2 separate regions of the Homo sapiens genome follow, and region 1 is linked to region 2. The links are contacts of gene promoters, found by promoter capture Hi-C in blood cells and fetal thymus (Javierre and others, 2016). All regions are on one chromosome and are shown on one strand. The core of a region is centred on a gene start or on the middle of the fragment in contact, and the rest is flanking DNA. Distances in the headings are between cores, read along the strand shown. Region 1 overlaps CCDC63 (coiled-coil domain containing 63). Region 2 holds the start of TCTN1 (tectonic family member 1).

The links. The method cuts DNA at HindIII sites, captures the fragments that hold promoters and counts their contacts. A CHiCAGO score of 5 or more calls a contact.
Region 1: a fragment that was not itself captured here is called in contact with the fragment with the promoter of TCTN1 in region 2 in 5 of 17 cell types (M0 macrophages, M1 macrophages, endothelial precursors and 2 more); the score reaches 6.4 in M0 macrophages.

What each region holds. Positions count from the first base shown.
Region 1 is chr12:110,881,440-110,884,139 of GRCh38, forward strand. CCDC63 (coiled-coil domain containing 63) reads left to right here. Exons shown (of 12, transcript NM_152591.3): 8 at 2,591-2,700. Among named protein-coding and RNA genes, the nearest start is that of CCDC63, 36 kb to the left of the region's middle. The HindIII fragment of the contact is 1,393 bases long and covers 710-2,102 here.
Region 2 is chr12:110,612,834-110,615,533 of GRCh38, forward strand. It overlaps TCTN1 (tectonic family member 1), which reads left to right and starts at 1,296. Exons shown (of 15, transcript NM_001082538.3): 1 at 1,296-1,569. The coding sequence starts at 1,350. RefSeq lists an enhancer at 1,573-1,622. The HindIII fragment of the contact is 6,908 bases long and covers 1-2,700 here.

The DNA of each region.
Region 1 (2,700 bases), core at 156-2,655, 270 kb after region 2:
TTGTGCATGGTGGCTCACGCCTGTAATCCCAGCACTTTGGGAGGCCAAGGCAGGCTGATCATTTGAGGTCAGGAATTTGAGAACAGCCTGACCAACATGGTGAAACCCCGTCTCTACTAAAAATACAAAAAAATTAGCTGGACATAGTGGTGAGTGCCTGTAATCCCAGCTACTTGGGAAGCTGAGGCAGGAGAATCACTTGAACCCAGGAGGCAGAGGTTGCAATGAGCCAAGATCATGCCACTGCACTCCAGCCTGGGCAACAGAATAAGACTCTCAAAAAAAAAATGCCTAGTTAAATTTAAATATCAAATAAACAATAAATAAATGTTTAGGATAACTATGTCTCATGCAGCATTTGGGACATACTTATGATAAAACTTTTTTGTTTATCTATAATTGGGACATATTTATACTTAAAAATATATTTGTCTGAAATTCAAATTTAACTGAGAACCCTCTATTTTATCTGCCAACCCTAATTTACAGCATGTGTCTTCATCTGGGACTCTCTTTCTATTATTTAGAAGGAGACTTATTGTCAGGGGTCCCCAGGTTCATCTCTAGGTTTGATGATTCACTAGCATATCTCGCAGGACTCAGCACTGAGGCACATTCATGGCTGTGATGCATTACAGTGAAAAGGCACCAAGCAAGATCAGCACAGGGAGAAGGTGTGTGGTCCGGCGTCTGGAGGAAACTGGGCGCAAGCTTCCAAGTACAGTCACACTGAGCACACATGGTTCTTTCAGGATCTGTGACCACACATCATGTCAAGAGTTATCTACTAGGCTGGGCATGGTGGCTCATGCCTGTAATCTCAGTGCTTTGGGAGGCCAAGGCGGGAGGATCACTTGAGGCCAGGAGTTTGAGACTGGCCTGGGCAAATGAGCAAGACCCCATCTCTACAATGAATAAAAAAAAATTAGTTGGGCATAGTGGTACATGCCTGTGGTCCCAGCTACTCTGGAGACTGAGATGGGAGGATGGCTTGATCTCAGAAGGTCTGATGGTGACAAGGTGCTGAGGGGTAGAAAAAAGCAGATCCTAAGTCCAGGAGTTTGAGGCTGCAGCAAGCTATGATTGCGCCACTCCAGCCTGGGTGACAGAGTGAGACCCTGTCTCTTAAAAAAAAAAAGGTTATCTCATAGTGGGGTATACTAGAGATTCAGTACCCCAAATTCTTACTGGGGGCTGGTCGTGTAGACACCCTCTGCCTAGCACATACCAAAATTCTAGACACTCAGAGGAAAAGCAGGTGTTTGGGATAAACTGCTGGGCATGGTGGCACTTGCCTGTGGTCTCAGCTACTGGGGAGTCTGAGGTGGGAGGATCGCCTGAGCCTCCCCAGAACAGTGGGGAGCCACAACCTGTAAAAAGGTCACATGGTCAGGTGTGCCTAAACGATCCTTTTATTTATTTATTTATTTATTTTTAAGAAACAGGGTCTAGTTCTTTCTCCCAGGCTGGAGTGCAGTGGTGTGACAGTCACAGCTCACTTCAGCCTTGACCTCTTAGGCCCAAGCCATCCTCCCACTTTGCCCTCCCGAGTAGCTAGGACCACAGGCATTCAACACGACACTTGGCTAATTTTAAATTTTTTTTTTTTTTTTTTTAAGACGGAGTCTTGCTCTGTCACCCAGGCTGGAGTGCAGTGGCGCAATCTCGGCTCACTGCAACCTCCACCTCCTGGGTTCAAGTGATTCTCCTGCCTCAGCCTCCTGAGTAGCTGGGACTACAGGCACATGCCACCACACCCAGCTAATTTTTGTATTTTTAGAAGAGACGGGGTTTCACCATGTTGGCCAGGATGGTCTCAGTCTCTTGACCTCGTGATCCACCTGCCTTGGCCTCCCAAAGTGCTGGGATTACAGGCGGGAGCCACTGCACCCGGCCTAATTTTAAAAATTTTTTGTAGAGGTGGGGTCTTGCTATGTTGTCCATGCTGGTCTTGAACTCCAGGGCTCAACCCCTGTGCTGGGATTACAGGTGTGAGCTACCATGCCCGGCCAGGGCAGGGATTTTGTATCAGCAGTGCCTAGCACAGTGTGTGACTCATAGTAAATGCTTCTTGAGATATTTGTGAAATGAATGATGGGTGAAGCTTCTGCTCTATCTCCTGGAAACATCTAGCCTCATCCCTAAAGCATACTACTATATATATATTTTTTTGTTTGTTTGTTTGTTTTTTGTTTGCTTGTTTGTTTGTTTGTTTTTTGAGATGGAGTCTTGCTCCATCGCCCAGGCTGGAGTGCAGTGGCGCAAACTTGGCTCACTGCAACCTCTGCCTCCCAGGTTCAAGCAATTCTCCTGGCTTAGCCTCCCATGTAGCTGGGATTGCAGGCATGTGCCACCACACCTGGCTAATTTTTGCATTTTTAGTAGAGACGGGGTTTCGCCATGTTGGCTAGGCTGGTCTCGAACTCCTGACCTCAGGTGATCTGCCTGCCTCGGCTTCCCAAAGTGTTGGGATTACAGGCGTGAGTCACCATGCCTGGCCACAATAATATTGATCACGTTACTGTCTGCCTGGCACGGATCTGAGGAGCTTCCTTTTGAGTGTCACAGTGGCTGATTTTTCCTTTCCTAGCTCTCAAGGCAAAGAAGCATGTCAAGAAGAACAGGGGAGAGAGTTTTGAGAGCTATGAGGTGGCCCACCTCCGGCTGCTGAAGCTGGCTGAGAGTGGGAACCTAAACCAG
Region 2 (2,700 bases), core at 46-2,545:
ATTACAGTGGATTTGCTTTGTTTTCCCCTTTAAGATGTCTAAATTATTTTACTTAATTTTTGTAAAAGATTTTTGTCTTTAAATAGGTTCTTAGGCCTGGCGTGGTGGCTCATGCCTGTAATCCTAGCTCTTTGGGAGGCTGAGGCGGGAGGATCACTTGAGGCCAGGAGTTTGTGACTAGCCTGATCAACATAGTGAGACCCCCTCTCTACAAAAAATAATAAAAGGTATTAAGTGTTCATTTGTCCCCTTTATCACAATACAGCAGACAGAAGTTATCTGGCAACCTTGTGAGATGCAGCTAAAATAAAAAGGTGAAGCCAGTGTTGACAGAGTCTGGGATAGAGAAAATTCAGAGACAGTGATCTCACAGATCCCTGTGCTCCTTCCAAACACCCACGTTAGTGGCGTTGGGACGGCGCTTCCTAAATTTCCGTCCAACTCATCTGCTTGCGTCCGGACATTTGTTAAAAATATTTATTCCTGGCTGGGAGTGGTGGCTCACGCCTGTAATCCCAACTACTCAGGACTCAGGAGGCTGGAGCAGGTGGATCACTTGAACCAGGAGTTCGATACCAGTCCGGGCGACGGAGGGAGACCTCGTCTTTACAAAAAAAAAAAAAAAAAAAAAAAAATACAAAAATTAGCTGGGTATGGTGGCGCGCGCCTGAGTTCCCAGCTACTCAGGAGGCTGAAGTGGGAGGATTGCTTGAGTCCCAGAGGTCGAGGCTGCAGTGAGCCGAGATCGCGCTACTGCACTCCAGCCTGGGCGACAGAGTGAGACCCTGTCTCAAAAAAAATCCCCCAAAAACTGATTCCTGGGTCCTGCCCTAGACTAACTGACTCAGGATCTCCTGAGGTGGTACCTGGAAATCCGTCTTTTTTTTTTTTTTTTTTTTTTTTGGTTGAGACAGAGTGTCACACTGTCGCCCAGGCTGGAGTGCAGTGGCACGCTCACGGCTCTCTGTAGCCTTCACCTCCCGGGTTCAAGCGATTCTTCTGCCTCAGCCTCCCGAGTAGCTGGAACTACAGAAAATCTGCATTTTTTAAGCAAGCGCCGCGGACCGGTTGGAAACCACAGCCGGGATTTACACGCCCCTCGTTTACGCCAGCTTCACACCCGCTCACTAGTGCTCGCCCCTGTGCCTGCCATCGCTGCCTCACCCAGGCGCCGCCCTCCGGCCTCATCCGGGATCCGCCCCCTGCCTCATCCAGGCTTCGCCCCAGTCAGTCTCCGGCAGCTTCTCGCGGCTTCGCAAGCCCCTTCCCGTGATGCCCCGCGCCTGGCTGTCGCGGTTGCCGGGCAACGCGCTGTCCATGTCGCGGGCCTCGCTGGGACTCCCTGGGAGATGAGGCCGCGAGGTCTCCCGCCGCTCCTGGTGGTGCTCCTGGGCTGCTGGGCCTCCGTGAGCGCCCAGACCGATGCCACCCCGGCGGTGACGACAGAGGGCCTCAACTCCACCGAGGCAGCCCTGGCCACCTTCGGAACTTTCCCGTCGACCAGGCCCCCCGGGACTCCCAGGGCTCCAGGGCCCTCCTCCGGCCCCAGGCCTACCCCAGTCACGGACGGTGGGTACCATGTGCCAGCTCCTGGAGTCCACAGTGATCCAACCTCAAGGGGACAGCCCCGGTGAGGACGTAATAATGATAGCTAACTCTTATTGAGCACTTACTGTGTGCAGACACTGCTGAGTGTTCCATAAACGTCCATTCTCTAAACAATAACCCTGAGAAGTAGCTGTTACTATCACTGTCAGGTAAATGAGAAAACCGGGTCTCAGAGTTTAAGTGGAACGGTATCAAACCTTTGAAAATACTTGAAGTGGTCCCAGACAACAGTGATGCAAAGAGCAATAATGAATTCTTGCAGCCCAAGACGAAATTAAGTCGAGACAATGGTGGAAATTAGTGCCTTGGCTGCACTGAACTTTCACTTAAAGAGAGGCCAAAGGTCTATCTTACTAAATGTGACTATGTTAAGACCCTTCTCTGTTGACCTGAATTCTAAAAACCCAGGATTCCTCCTGTGTTGAATTGGAGGTGGAAAGCTATTGAGGGAGGGGTTATGCTCACTTCTTAGGAGTCATATGTAGGGATAATTAACATTTTTTTCAGAAAATGATTAATTCTAGAATTACACATTTAGTGGAAATATTTTATAATCTAATTTGACGTTTGGCTGGCGCCGTGGCTCACGCCTGTAATCCCAGCACTTTGGGAGGTCAACTCGGGTGGATTGCTTGAGGTAGGAGTTCAAGATCAGTCTGGTCAAAATGGCGAAACCCAGTCTCTACTAAAAATAGAAAAAATAGCCGGGCATGGTGTAATCCTAGCTACTCGGGAGGCTGAGGCAGGAGACTCGCTTGAACCCAGGAGGCAGAGGTTGCAGTAATTACCACTGCACTCCAGACTGGGCGACAGAGCAAGACTGTCTCAAAAAAAAAAATTGACATGGATGACTTCACTGAATGACTGTGACCCGCTAAGATTGAGTGCAAAACTTTGTGAATATGCCTTTTCCTGAGATGAGAGTTCATAGCAGCCGATTCTTAAAGTGGTTCATGATCTCAAAAAAAGTTTTTAAAATTTTCCGATTGTGTGAATTGAGAGTAACCCCAATAGATATGCAGTACTTTTAATCTTTTTTTATTCTTTTTTTGTTTTTGAGACAAGGTCTCGCTCTGTTACCCAGGCTGGAGT